3 separate regions of the Homo sapiens genome follow, and regions 1 and 2 are each linked to region 3. Evidence: promoter capture Hi-C in human tissues and cell types (Jung and others, 2019). All regions are on one chromosome and are shown on one strand. The core of a region is centred on a gene start or on the middle of the fragment in contact, and the rest is flanking DNA. Distances in the headings are between cores, read along the strand shown. Region 1 has its middle 35 kb from the start of FKBP1C. Region 2 has its middle 50 kb from the start of FKBP1C. Region 3 holds the start of FKBP1C (FKBP prolyl isomerase family member 1C).

Region 1 (3,909 bases), core at 342-2,841, 35 kb after region 3:
ATAAAACTGCATCTCTCACTCTCCCAAAAGGATTGACAGATTTAGTGAATAGAAAGATGCTCAGCTATATTTGCATTTCCTATAAACAAGGAATAATTTTTTGTATAATTATGTTCCCAATATCTGGAAACCATGCTCACTAAGTATGGGCAATATTCTGGCAGGGAGTCTGGAAGGTTGTCATAAATTAATATTTTTTCCCAATGCTTGATATGTCATGCTTGTACACATTTTATAGTTATCATGAAAGATGTGGCTGGGCACTGTGGCTCATGCCTGTAATCCCAACACTTTGGGAGGCTGAGATGGGTGGATGGCTTGAGCCCAGGAATCGAGACCGGCCTGGACAACATGGCGAAAGCCCATCTCAACAAAAAAATTAAAAAAAAAAAAAATAGCCCAGCGTGATGATGCGCACCTGTAGTCCCAGCTATTCAGGAGGCTGAGGTAGGAGGATTACTTGAAAACAAGCGGCAGAGGTTGCAGTGAACAGAGATTGTGCCACTGCACTCCATCTTGAGCAACAAAACCAGACCTAGTCTTAAAAAAAAAAGAAAAAAAAAACACATCCCCAGTTCCCATACCATTTGGGATAGAGACAAATAGGCAGCTGAGTTTGTCCCTTACACACTACTTAAAGGGAAAGACTGACCCTGCTGATTCGTGTCTAATTCCTCGGGAGAAAGGGGATGCATGAAGTTACTTGGAGATGGACTGTCACGCAAAAGTCCTCTCTGTATCCTTAAAAGGACGATGTACTCTATTTGGGGATCAGGATGTTAGAGTAATGCTCACAGTATATGTGGTAGAGGCAGAAAAAAAAAAATGTTTTTTTCTCCTTCCATAGTGAGGCACTGCAACAATAATAGCATGGTTCAATTTTGGTAAAAACTGCAAGCTAACAGCAAACATTGTATTGCTCTTACAATGAGCTTGGCACTGTCCTAAACATCAACAGCACATATTAACTTAGTGAATCTTCACAATCCTCAAATGGGGGAAGTAGATGAGGAAACTAGTCATGAGGGTAAATATTGATCCAACTCACACACTATTTAGTGGCAAGTTCAGGTTTAGGACCTATACTATCAGGTTCCTAACTATTGCATCATGCTACCTCTCATACTGAAATTCGTCTTGGAACTCATCCAATATGGACAGAAACATATGGGGCCAGAGGTGCAGTAGATGGCGACTTGGAGTATTTAGCTTTTCCCTGGAATATTCTAGGAATCCAGAAATACTTGTGATTACTTTAAGTTCAGGAAATCTGGCAATCCTAAATATTTGCTGTTATTTATGATGTTAAGCATTAGATATACTTTATGTATTTTTTCTCATTTAACTTATTTTATATATAGAGAGAGAGATTATTTTATTTTATTTTAAGTTCCAGGATACACATGCAGGACACCTGCAAGTTTGTTACATAAGTAAACGTGTGCCATGGTGGTTTGCTGTACCTATCAACCCATCACCTAGGTATTAAGCCCAGCAGTATTAACTATTTATCCTGATGCTCTCCCTCTGCCTACATCCCCCTACAGGCCCCAGTGTGTATTGTTCCCCTCCCTGTGTCCATATGTTCTCACTGTTCAGCTCCCACTTATAAGTGTGAACATGCAGTGTTTGGTTTTCTGTTCTTGTCTTGTTATTGTATGCATACAATTCTCATGACCCATCAGAATTTATTATTTATCCCTTCTTTAAAAAATAAAACTAATATTAAGTGGTCACAAACTAAGTAAAAGAACTAACAGTGAAACCCCCCAGACTCATATCCCACTGCCTCTAGGAAATTGCTCTAGAAATATGTTATAGTTACATTTACTTGCACTTTGCTTTTAGAAGGCTTGGTGGTCAGAATGAGCTGTGGCTTTTTGAGAATTTATGCTCAATGACTACCATGCTGTGAATCCCTATTTTCAGAGGTTTTCTTTAAATAATTGAAAAGTCCTTTCCTTCTCCAATTAAAACAGGTGTACAATTTGAAAATAGGACTATTTCCTCTATCTGTCCTATCTTATTTTAGCCATACCTGACATTTTATTGGCATGTATAAAGCAGTTTAATTTAATGAGATGAGCATAATTTAAAGATAAATACATGGGTTATCCTTATTCCTCTAAACAGCAAGTGTGCTCTTCAAGCTTCTATCTTTGCAGACTGATTTCCCTAAATTATGCTTGAAAAAAAATTTTTAATTGCATTCCAATCCACATACATATGCATGTACATACACACATACAGAAAATTACATATGCAAAACCTGGAAGCTCATTCTGCTCTAACACTAAAAATGTTTTCTTATGAAATCTCAACTTAATTAAAAATCCTGTCTAAAATCTTGTAATTTAAAGAGCTACCTCAATGCAGGGGAAAGGAGCTGAAGACTAGAAATTTCAGTCTTGCATTAAAAAGTTATTTTTTTCTACAAGAATTCAATAATATTGGGAAAATTTTTTCCAAAAGAAATACATGAACATATTATCTTAAACATTTCAAACAATATAGATAACAACAAAAAATAGGCCAGGTGCGGTGGCTCACGCCTGTAATCCCAGAACTTTGGAGGGCCGAGGCGGGCAGATAATGAGGTCAGGAGATGGAGACCATCCTGGCTAACACGGTAAAACCCCGTCTCTACTAAAAATACAAAAAATCAGCCGGGCGTGGTGGCAGGCGCCTGTAGTCCCAGCTACTCGGGAGGCTGAGGCAGGAGAATGGCCGTGAACGCGGGAGGCGGGGCTTGCAGTGAGCTGAGATTGCGCCACTGCACTCCAGCCTGGGCGACAGAGCGAGACTCCGTCTCAACAACAACAACAAAAAGCATAGTCTAAGCCCCCTTTTTTCCTTTCCTTACACTTCTTGTTGCTAGCTATAGCTCCATAAACCATCTGATGTGTATCCTTCTAGATATTTTCTGTGCATGTACATGCACATATACATTTTTCTTATAACACAACCCTTCCACTCCTATTTATAAAAGAGAAATTAAATCAGCACACATCTATACAAAGAATTAACTACAAATTTTCATAGCTGTTTTATAAGTAATAGCCAAAAACTTTATATAACCTAAATGTCCGTTAGTAAGTAAGTGGATAAATAAATTGTAGGCTATCCAGACTACAAAACACTCCCGAGCAATAACAAGGAATCCACTATTGGTATACACAGCAATCTGTTAAATATCAAAATAATTATGCTGAATGAAAGAAGGCAAATAAAAAGAGTGCACACTGTGTGATTCCATTAATATAAAATTCTAGAAAGTGTAAATTAACCTATAGCAACAGAAAGCAGATCAATGATTGCTTAAGGAGAGGTACAGGATGAGGAAGAGCAGGAAGGGAGGGAAAAGAGATGAAAAAGAAAAGTTCCTGGGTGATGAAATTGTTCATCTTGGTTGTGGTGGTAGTTTCATGGCTCTACTCATATATGAAAACATCAAATTGTACTTTCAAAAATGTGTAATTTATTGTATGTCAATTTTACCTACACACACATACACACTTCCATTATGTGGTGAATAGACCAAGAGATCCCGTATCAATTGGAATTAAAAATATTTGATGCTATCCTGTCAACAAGAATAAAAACAGTAAAAAGTAATTGTCTCTAGGCATTGGGACAGGGGATGGGAAGACTTTATGCTTTATATTAGAATCTTCTGCTTCATTTGATTTTGTTGGAGGAGGCGCCACGTGGAGGTATGTATCTTACTTCAAAAGTCATTTCTGAAGATAGTGTTAAATGCCTACACATTTTACAGAAATGAAATTTAACAAAAATATTTATAGTAAAAGTTTACCAGGTGTGAGGTATCATAAATGACTTTTTTCATTTTTCTACTTTTTAAAATTTTCTTAGAAACTTTAACCATTTGTTAAAACTTATTTTTAAATA
Region 2 (4,130 bases), core at 468-2,967, 50 kb before region 3:
ACAAATATACTATATATATAATATACATACGATATAAATATATAGTATATTTGTTATATATAAATAACAGTTATATAGTATATGACTGTTACATAGTATATTTGTTATATATAAATGTTATATATAAATAACAAATATAGTATATAACAGTCATATACTATATAACTGTTTGAAAACAGTTAATAAACAATATTTAGGATACATGTAAAGAAAATTTGAAGAAAAAATAAACATTTTTTTTTCCAAGACAGAGTCTTGCTCTGTCGCCCAGGCTGGAGGTGCAATGGCATGATCTCAGCTCACTGCAACCTCGGCCTCCTGGGTTCAAGCAATTCTCCTGCCTCAGCCTCCCTAGAAGCTGGGATGACAGGTGCCCATCACCATGCCGGGCTAATTTTTGTATTTTTAGTAGAGATGGGGTTTCACCATGTTGGCCAGGCTGGTCTTGAACTCCTGTCCTCAAGTGATCCTCCTGCCTCAGCCTCCCAAAGTGCTGGGATTACAGGCATGAGCCACCACACCCAGCCTACACATTGTTTTTAATCACATGCAATCAAACTGTCGAAAACGAATGGAGGCAGTACATTCAGCTGTAATGGGAAACACTTGTAATCTGTAATCTTCCTGATATGAGGAAGGTGCTTATTCTCACATGAAAGGACAGGATGAGATCAGGAACTACACAATGTGGCAGAGCAAAAAGCTCCCATCTAGTTGGTTTTGATAGAATCATTTTAGCTTAGACTCATTTTCTAATGTCAATTATAATGCTTGTATTATACCATCTCACTCCTGGTTGCCAAAAGCAATAAAATGCTTGTTTAATCTGGCTTAAATGCTGCACTTAGTCTTTTACTTAAAAATCTAGAGGTTGGAGGATCCAGTGATACTCAACTATTCAATAATATTGTGGTCCTGGTGTCACATATCTGAGGTTCTCTTGGCCTTCTCCTTATGGTGATGGCTCCAACCATCAAGTCCTAAGACATTTGAAAGCAATAAGAAAGAGGTGAAGTAGAACATAATTTTTTCACTTGAGTAACTCTTTCAAACAGAAAAGAAAAAATATCTTCCCAGAGGCATCCTCCTGTGGTGGATGGTAAAAATGGCCACAGTTCACTGCAGTTCCTTCTATCAAGAGATGGACCCTATTTCCCCGATCCAAAAATTTGTGCTATCTGTGGTTTGCTTTGGTCAATGTAATGCACATATGTGATGCTGTTAGAGTTTCAAGGCTGGACCTCAAGAAACTTGCACATTTCAACTCCTGGTTTATTAAATATTACAATTGTCATGTGAAAATGCCTGCCCTAGTCTGCTGGATGGTGAGAGACATGGGGCCTAATTATTCATTTTGCCCTGGTTGACAGATTGCCAAACACTAGACATGTGAATGTGGTCATGCTAGATCATACAACCACCCGCCCACCTGCCATGTGAACACAGAATCATGAGCAAGCCCAGGCCATATCAGTGGAGCCAATCTTCACCAGAAGAAACACCCAGTCAAATCATAAAACCATAAGTTAAATAAATGTTTAGTTTTTTAAAGCCACTACATTTAAGAGAGGTCTGTTACGCAGCAAGAGTTACCTAATACATCTCCCATCAGCCTTATCCTTAAATCTATTTGGTCAGAAATCAAGTTGCATCTCCACACCTAGACCAAGCATGGAAAAAAGGAAATTATAATGACTGAAATAGACACACAGTGCTTTATCCCCTGGCACTGGACACACTGCCACCCAAATAAGAGAGAGTTTCCATAGCAAGGAAGTAAAAGGATTGGCTTTGGCTAAGCAAACAACAGTATCATCCACTGACATACTGAGGTCTTCAGAAAAAATGAAAGAGGGAAAATGTTAGAAGTGATTAAGAAGTCAGGAATTTAACTTTGACATAGTATCAGATACGAGCCTAAATATAGAATAAGCAGCTTCAACATGTGCCATAATTTAGATTCTAGAGATATTTAATTATTGGAATTTATCTTAACCTCTAAAAGCAGTTACTCTTTGCTATTTCTAGATGATCAGATTTAATTTGAATTCAATTTCTTCCAAGGGCTGAGATTAAGATGTCTATTTAGATATGAGTAGCCATGGACATATTTTTTGAAGAAAAGATTTAGCTATATACATCCATACACACAAATCATTTTCCTGTAGTACTTCTCTTGAAATTCAATTTCTTATTTAGCATACTTCATTTACTTGAAAATTCAATAGCCTATTTAACATACTTCATTTTTTCCTTTTAATCTTCACAGTGTTCAATAAATATGGTCAATAAATTTTTTATGATAAAATACAGTCATCATGATGATAAAATTTGTTAGCTTTATCCTGACTCTATATGTAGCTTTATTTGTATTATTTAGTTTTCCACATACTACATCCTATCTTTGTAAGAGAAGTCCCTAAAGTATGGGTGGTGCATAATTCCAAGACACAGTATTGAAAATAGCCTAATATAATAATTTAAAGTGACATCTCTTTCCCAAATTTCCCTTTTAAATGTACATACTTTATCTGCTTAATTCTTATTAAGTGCCAGCTGTACTATATATTAGCAAAATTGGTAGAAAGTTCATTTTTAAAGAAAGAATACACTAAATGTAGAAGGCCAAAGATTTGTAGAAGGCCAAAGATTCCTTCACAACTGCAGTTTGAAGGAATAAAAGAAATTACCTTCATTTTATAGCATTAAAAATGAAATGAGACTGCTACTGTATTTTGAGAACAAAATAAATGTACTGTCAAATACTCTTTTATCTTATTTTAAAACATCAGAATTGTGCATATTTTTAGAAAACACAAAATGTTGAGCATCTATGAACATCAGAAGAAAATGATGATATAGATTATGTTGAATGTTAGTTTTAAACTATAGATGGCTGCAAGTTGATTATCCAAATCAAATACAGCATGGCCTTCCTGGATGGACATCAGTTCTCATTAATGCTCATATATTAAGAAATTTTTGGAGTGGAGTCTAGGAGTAAAATTTATTCTGTTATAATTAGTTGCACCTGAAATGCTCTTCAATTAGCTAGTGTAAATTAATCAAGGTCTTATATCCAGGATACTGAAGTATTCAGAGTAATAAATGGCCTCTGCATTTGATTAAATGCAAAATGAAGCTGATGTGTTTAATCAACCACAAGTGCCTTTTTACAGCAAATAAGTACTCTCTAACACATGGGCCATTATAACTTCCCTTCTAGCAAGAGAAAACTTTCAGTGTGTTCATCTGGCTGATAATGAAAATACCATCCCACTGTAAAGGAGTTGCTTCTGCCTTTTGCTGCTTACAGTAGGATCCACACAAGACTATCTAAATTATTATTTTGCTAAATTGAGCAAAATATACAACTGCTTTTTCTATAAAATTACAGATATTTTTACTCTTAGCTTGGTGAAGTGAAGCTTAGTAGAATAACAATCCGTAAGTAGTAAAATGTTATCTAAACCAATAAAGATAATTAAATCAAGCAAATGATCTGAGGTGGTTAAACATCAAAAAAGTACAAAAGCAATGCATAAAGTGATGAATTGTCCTTCTCTTTTTCAGGAGAGGAAGATTAATGTTGTCACAGGCTATAGTGTTCTATTTTTCCACTCCTTCTCACTATTTATTAAAAATCTAGGACTGTTCTGAGACCACGTTCTCTTCACTCTTGATTGTCTCTGTTTGACCTGGGACACAGCTAATAAAACCAACCCAACATCACTCAAGTTCATGTTTGCTCATTGACTCTGGCTGTCAACATTAGAAAATCCTCTTCCTCAAATGTGATTTTCCTCTCTGCAGATTCTTTATTCCTTATAGAGAACATAGAAAATTTCAAAACAGCTCTCCCTCCCCCTCCCACTCCCCCTCCCCCTCTCCTTCTTCGGTCTCCCTCTGTTGCCGAGGCTGGACTGTACTGCCGTGGTCTCGGCTCGCTGCAGCCTCCCTGCCCCGGCTCCCCTGATTCTCCTGCCTCAGCCTGCCGAGTGCCTGGGATTGCGGGCGCACGCCACCACGCCTGACTGGTTTTTGTATTTCTGGAGGAGACAGGGTTTTGCCCTGTTGACCGGGCTGGTCTCCGGCTCCTGACCTCGAGTGGTCTGCCCACCTCAGCCTCC
Region 3 (3,791 bases), core at 811-3,310:
GTCTTTGCTAAGATAACCCTGGATACAGATAAAATAACTCTCCACATCTTGAATTTTCTGTCAGAAAAACAACATACCTTAAGAATCATATTGTTCAAAATCCCAAGTTTTCAGGTAATAAGTACTATTGGCGTTATTGGTAAATAACCCAAATAAATTCCCAGTTGATATGCCTTCCTTCTGATTACATTTTGGAGAGCAGTTAATTCTTCAAAGAAGGAAACTTAACGAGACATTGTGTGTGTAATGGAAATGTGATGTACATGAGTTTATGCTTACAAAATAATCAATAACTACAATGTAAAATCAGCACTCAATCCTTGTAAGACCACAGTATGAAAATTTCTACTTTCCTTCAAAAAGGGTTTGTAAATGATTTTAAAAGAAGAAACAGCAGCCTCGACTCTTAGAAAACTTAACTAGATAAATTTGCACATTACAAGTCTTAAAACTAGAAACCATATTATTAACTGTGAAACTATATAATTAGTTTCTTTGTGAGCTTTCAATTTTTTGCTAGATAAAATTAAAACTGCCACCAAAAAATGAGGCCATTATGAACATGACAGGTCATTTGTTGAGAAAAGGGTTATGTAGAAATAGCATCTGATAATTTGTTGGAAATATTAGCATATAGATGGCTATGAAATGTGTGAAGTATTATCAGAAGAATTCTAATAAAAAATTTTTGCAGTGTAAGTCGACTATGGTTCTATTTCAAATGTAGTTAGGTTCTTAGCCCTAATGGCAAGCAGAGGCTACACTAAATGTATTTAACCTAAAGACAAGTTGATAAGAAATTTATAATTCCACTGTTTTTTAAAAATTACAAAAGTAAAAGGTATATACACATAACATCTACAGCAACAAAGAATGCAAAAACATTCTTTTCACATAGAAAGAGTTAAATATACATGCTTTCAAGAACAATAGCAGCTTCTCTTAAACTTTCTTAACTTACCTAGTGTTTTCTATCACTAAAAAAGCTGTATGTAAATCATTAAGTTTAGACTACTGAATCTATATCGTTCTTTGTAAACCAGACTCAAAGCATATTTCTTTCTAAGTTAACATGAACATAATAGAACACACAGAAAGAAAAATATAACTGTGAGTTTATATGCAAAGTACTGGACAACTTTCAAATATATACATCCTTCCTTTTTTCTTTAAAATATCTCTCTACACTGATACTTCTGGCAGAAACCTGACAATAGTGGCTACGCTAATCGTAGCATACTATTTAGATGGACAACAGTTAATTCATTTGAGCAAAAGTTTTAGAGATCTGTTTTAGACCTTTAAATCAAACTCCAGATATATACAATAGTATCCCTTATCCACAGTTTTGCTTTCTGCAGTTTCAGTTACCCATGGTCAATAGTGGTCTGCAAATATTAAATTGAAAGCTTCAGAAATAAACAATTCATAAGTTTTAAATTGCACACCATTCTGAGTAGTGTGAAGAAATCTCGAGCCATCCCGTTCCACTCTCACCTGACTGAGACGTGAATTATCCCATTGTCCACCATCTCCACACTGTATACCCTCCCTGTCTGTTAGTCACTCAGTAGCTGTCTTGGTTATCAGATCAATTGTAAGGTAGCTCAGAGCTTGTGTTTAATATGTACCCCTTATTTTACTTCATAATGGCCTCAAAGTGCAAGAGTAATGATGCTTTTATATTGTTATAACTGTTCTATTTTATTATTAGTCATTGTTTTTAGTCTCTTGCTGTGCCTAATTTATAAATTAAATTTTATCATAGGTATGTATGTACAGGAAAAAATATAGTATATATAGGGTTCTGTACTATCTGTGGTTCTGTGGTTTCAGGCACCCACTGGGGATCTTGGAACGTAGCCGCCACAGATAATGGGAGACCAAACACAAAGTTAACAAAGTTAACAAGGAAATGGTAACACTTCCAGTACGGGAAAAAAAAAAAAAAACCTATTTAGAGATTTTTAAGTGACTCATTCAACACACTTGCCCAGAAGGCACTAATATAGAATTTGTAGATTTTAAAAATACAGTATGGGCAGGCAACGCGCTGAGGGACTAGGCAGAGCCGTGGAACCGCCGCCAGGTCGCTGTCGGTCCACGCCGCCCGTCGCGCTGCCCGCCCGCTCGGCGTCGGCCGCCGCCATGGGAGTGCACGTGGAAACCATCTCCCCAGGAGACTGGCGCACCTTCCCGAAGCGCAGCCAGACCTGCGTGATGCACTACACCGGGATGCTTGAAGATGGAAAGAAATTTGATTCCTCCCGGGACAGAAACAAGCCCTTTAAGTTTATGCTAGGCAAGCAGGAGGTGATCCGAGGCTGGGAAGAAGGGGTTGTCCAGATGAGTGTGGGTCAGAGAGCCAAACTGACTATATCTCCAGATTATGCCTATGGTGCCACTGGGCACCCAGGCATCATCCCACCACATGCCACTCTCGTCTTCGATGTGGAGCTTCTAAAACTGGAATGACAGGAATGGCCTCCTCCCTTAGCTCCCTGTTCTTGGATCTGCCATGGAGGGATCTGGTGCCTCCAGACGTGTGCACATAAATCCATATGGAGCTTTTCCTGATGTTCCACTCCACTTTGTATAGACATCTGCCCCAACTGAATGTGTTCTGTCACTCAGCTTTGCTTCCGACACCTCTGTTTCCTCTTCCCCTTTCTCCTGGTATGTGCGTTTACCTAAACTATATGCCATAAACGTCAAGTTATTCATTTTACTTTTTCATTTTGGGGTGAAGATTCAGTTTCAGTCTTTTGAATATAGGTTTCCAATTAAGTACATGGTCAAGTGTTAACAGCACAAGTGATAAGTTAACGTTAGGATAGGAATTGGTGTTGAGGGGGTTGCAAGAATATTTTATTTTAATTTTTTGGATGAAATTTTTATCTATTATATATTAAACATTCTTGCTGCTGCGCTGCAAAACCATAGCAGATTTGAGGCACTGTTGAGGACTGAATTATTCTCCAAGTTGAGAGATGTCCTTGGGTTAAATTAAAAGCCCTACCTAAAACTGAGGTGGGGATGGGGAGAGGCTTTGCCTCCACCATTCCCACCCCACCCTCCCCTTAAACCCTCTGCCTTTGAAAGCAGGTCATGTTCACTGCGATGCTGGACACTACAGGTATCTGTCCCTGGGCCAGCAGGGACCTCTGAAGCCTTCTTTGTGGCCTTATTTTTTTTTTTTTTTTTTTCATCCTGTGGTTTTTCTAACGGACTTTCAGGAATTTTGTAATCTCATAACTTTCCAAGCTCCACCACTTCCTAAATCTTAAGAACTTTAATTGACAGTTTCAATTGAAGGTGCTGTTTGTAGACTTAACACCCAGTGAAAGCCCAGCCATCATGACAAATCCTTGAATGTTCTCTTAAGAAAATGATGCTGGTCATCCCAGCTTCAGCATCTCCTGTTTTTTGATGCTTGGCTCCCTCTGCTGATCTCAGAGTTTCCTGGCTTTTCCTCCCTCAGCCACTTCTCACCCCTTTGCTGTCCTGTGTAGTGATTTGGTGAGAGGAATCGTTGCTGCCCCCTTCCCCTAGCACCATATATGAGTCTCAAGTTTTATTATTGCAATAAAAGTGCTTTATGCTGGCTTTTCTCAAAAAATAAATAAATAAATAAATAAATAAAATAAAAATACAGTATGCACCTGTTCACCAAAAATCTATGGAAATAAAAAAATTAAATAAATAACTAAATATAAATAAAAATATGGTATGGAACCAGCCTAATTACTCATAGAACTGCTGTTTATGGTTTCTTTTGAATAAACATAAAA

The links. The method cuts DNA at HindIII sites, captures the fragments that hold promoters and counts their contacts. A contact is called where the count stands out against the background at its distance.
Region 1: a contact is called between a fragment that was not itself captured here and the fragment with the promoter of FKBP1C in region 3, in 5 of the 25 tissues and cell types used here (bladder, hippocampus, mesenchymal stem cells and 2 more).
Region 2: a fragment that was not itself captured here is called in contact with the fragment with the promoter of FKBP1C in region 3 in 2 of the 25 tissues and cell types used here (heart right ventricle and thymus).

The regions. Positions count from the first base shown.
Region 1 is chr6:63,244,570-63,248,478 of GRCh38, forward strand. No RefSeq gene overlaps it. Among named protein-coding and RNA genes, the nearest start is that of FKBP1C, 35 kb to the left of the region's middle. The HindIII fragment of the contact is 4,699 bases long and covers 1-3,909 here.
Region 2 is chr6:63,159,480-63,163,609 of GRCh38, forward strand. No RefSeq gene overlaps it. Among named protein-coding and RNA genes, the nearest start is that of FKBP1C, 50 kb to the right of the region's middle. The HindIII fragment of the contact is 8,263 bases long and covers 1-4,130 here.
Region 3 is chr6:63,209,409-63,213,199 of GRCh38, forward strand. FKBP1C (FKBP prolyl isomerase family member 1C) reads left to right here and starts at 2,061. Exons shown (of 1, transcript NM_001395980.1): 1 at 2,061-3,619. The coding sequence starts at 2,149. The coding sequence ends at 2,475. The HindIII fragment of the contact is 10,095 bases long and covers 1-3,791 here.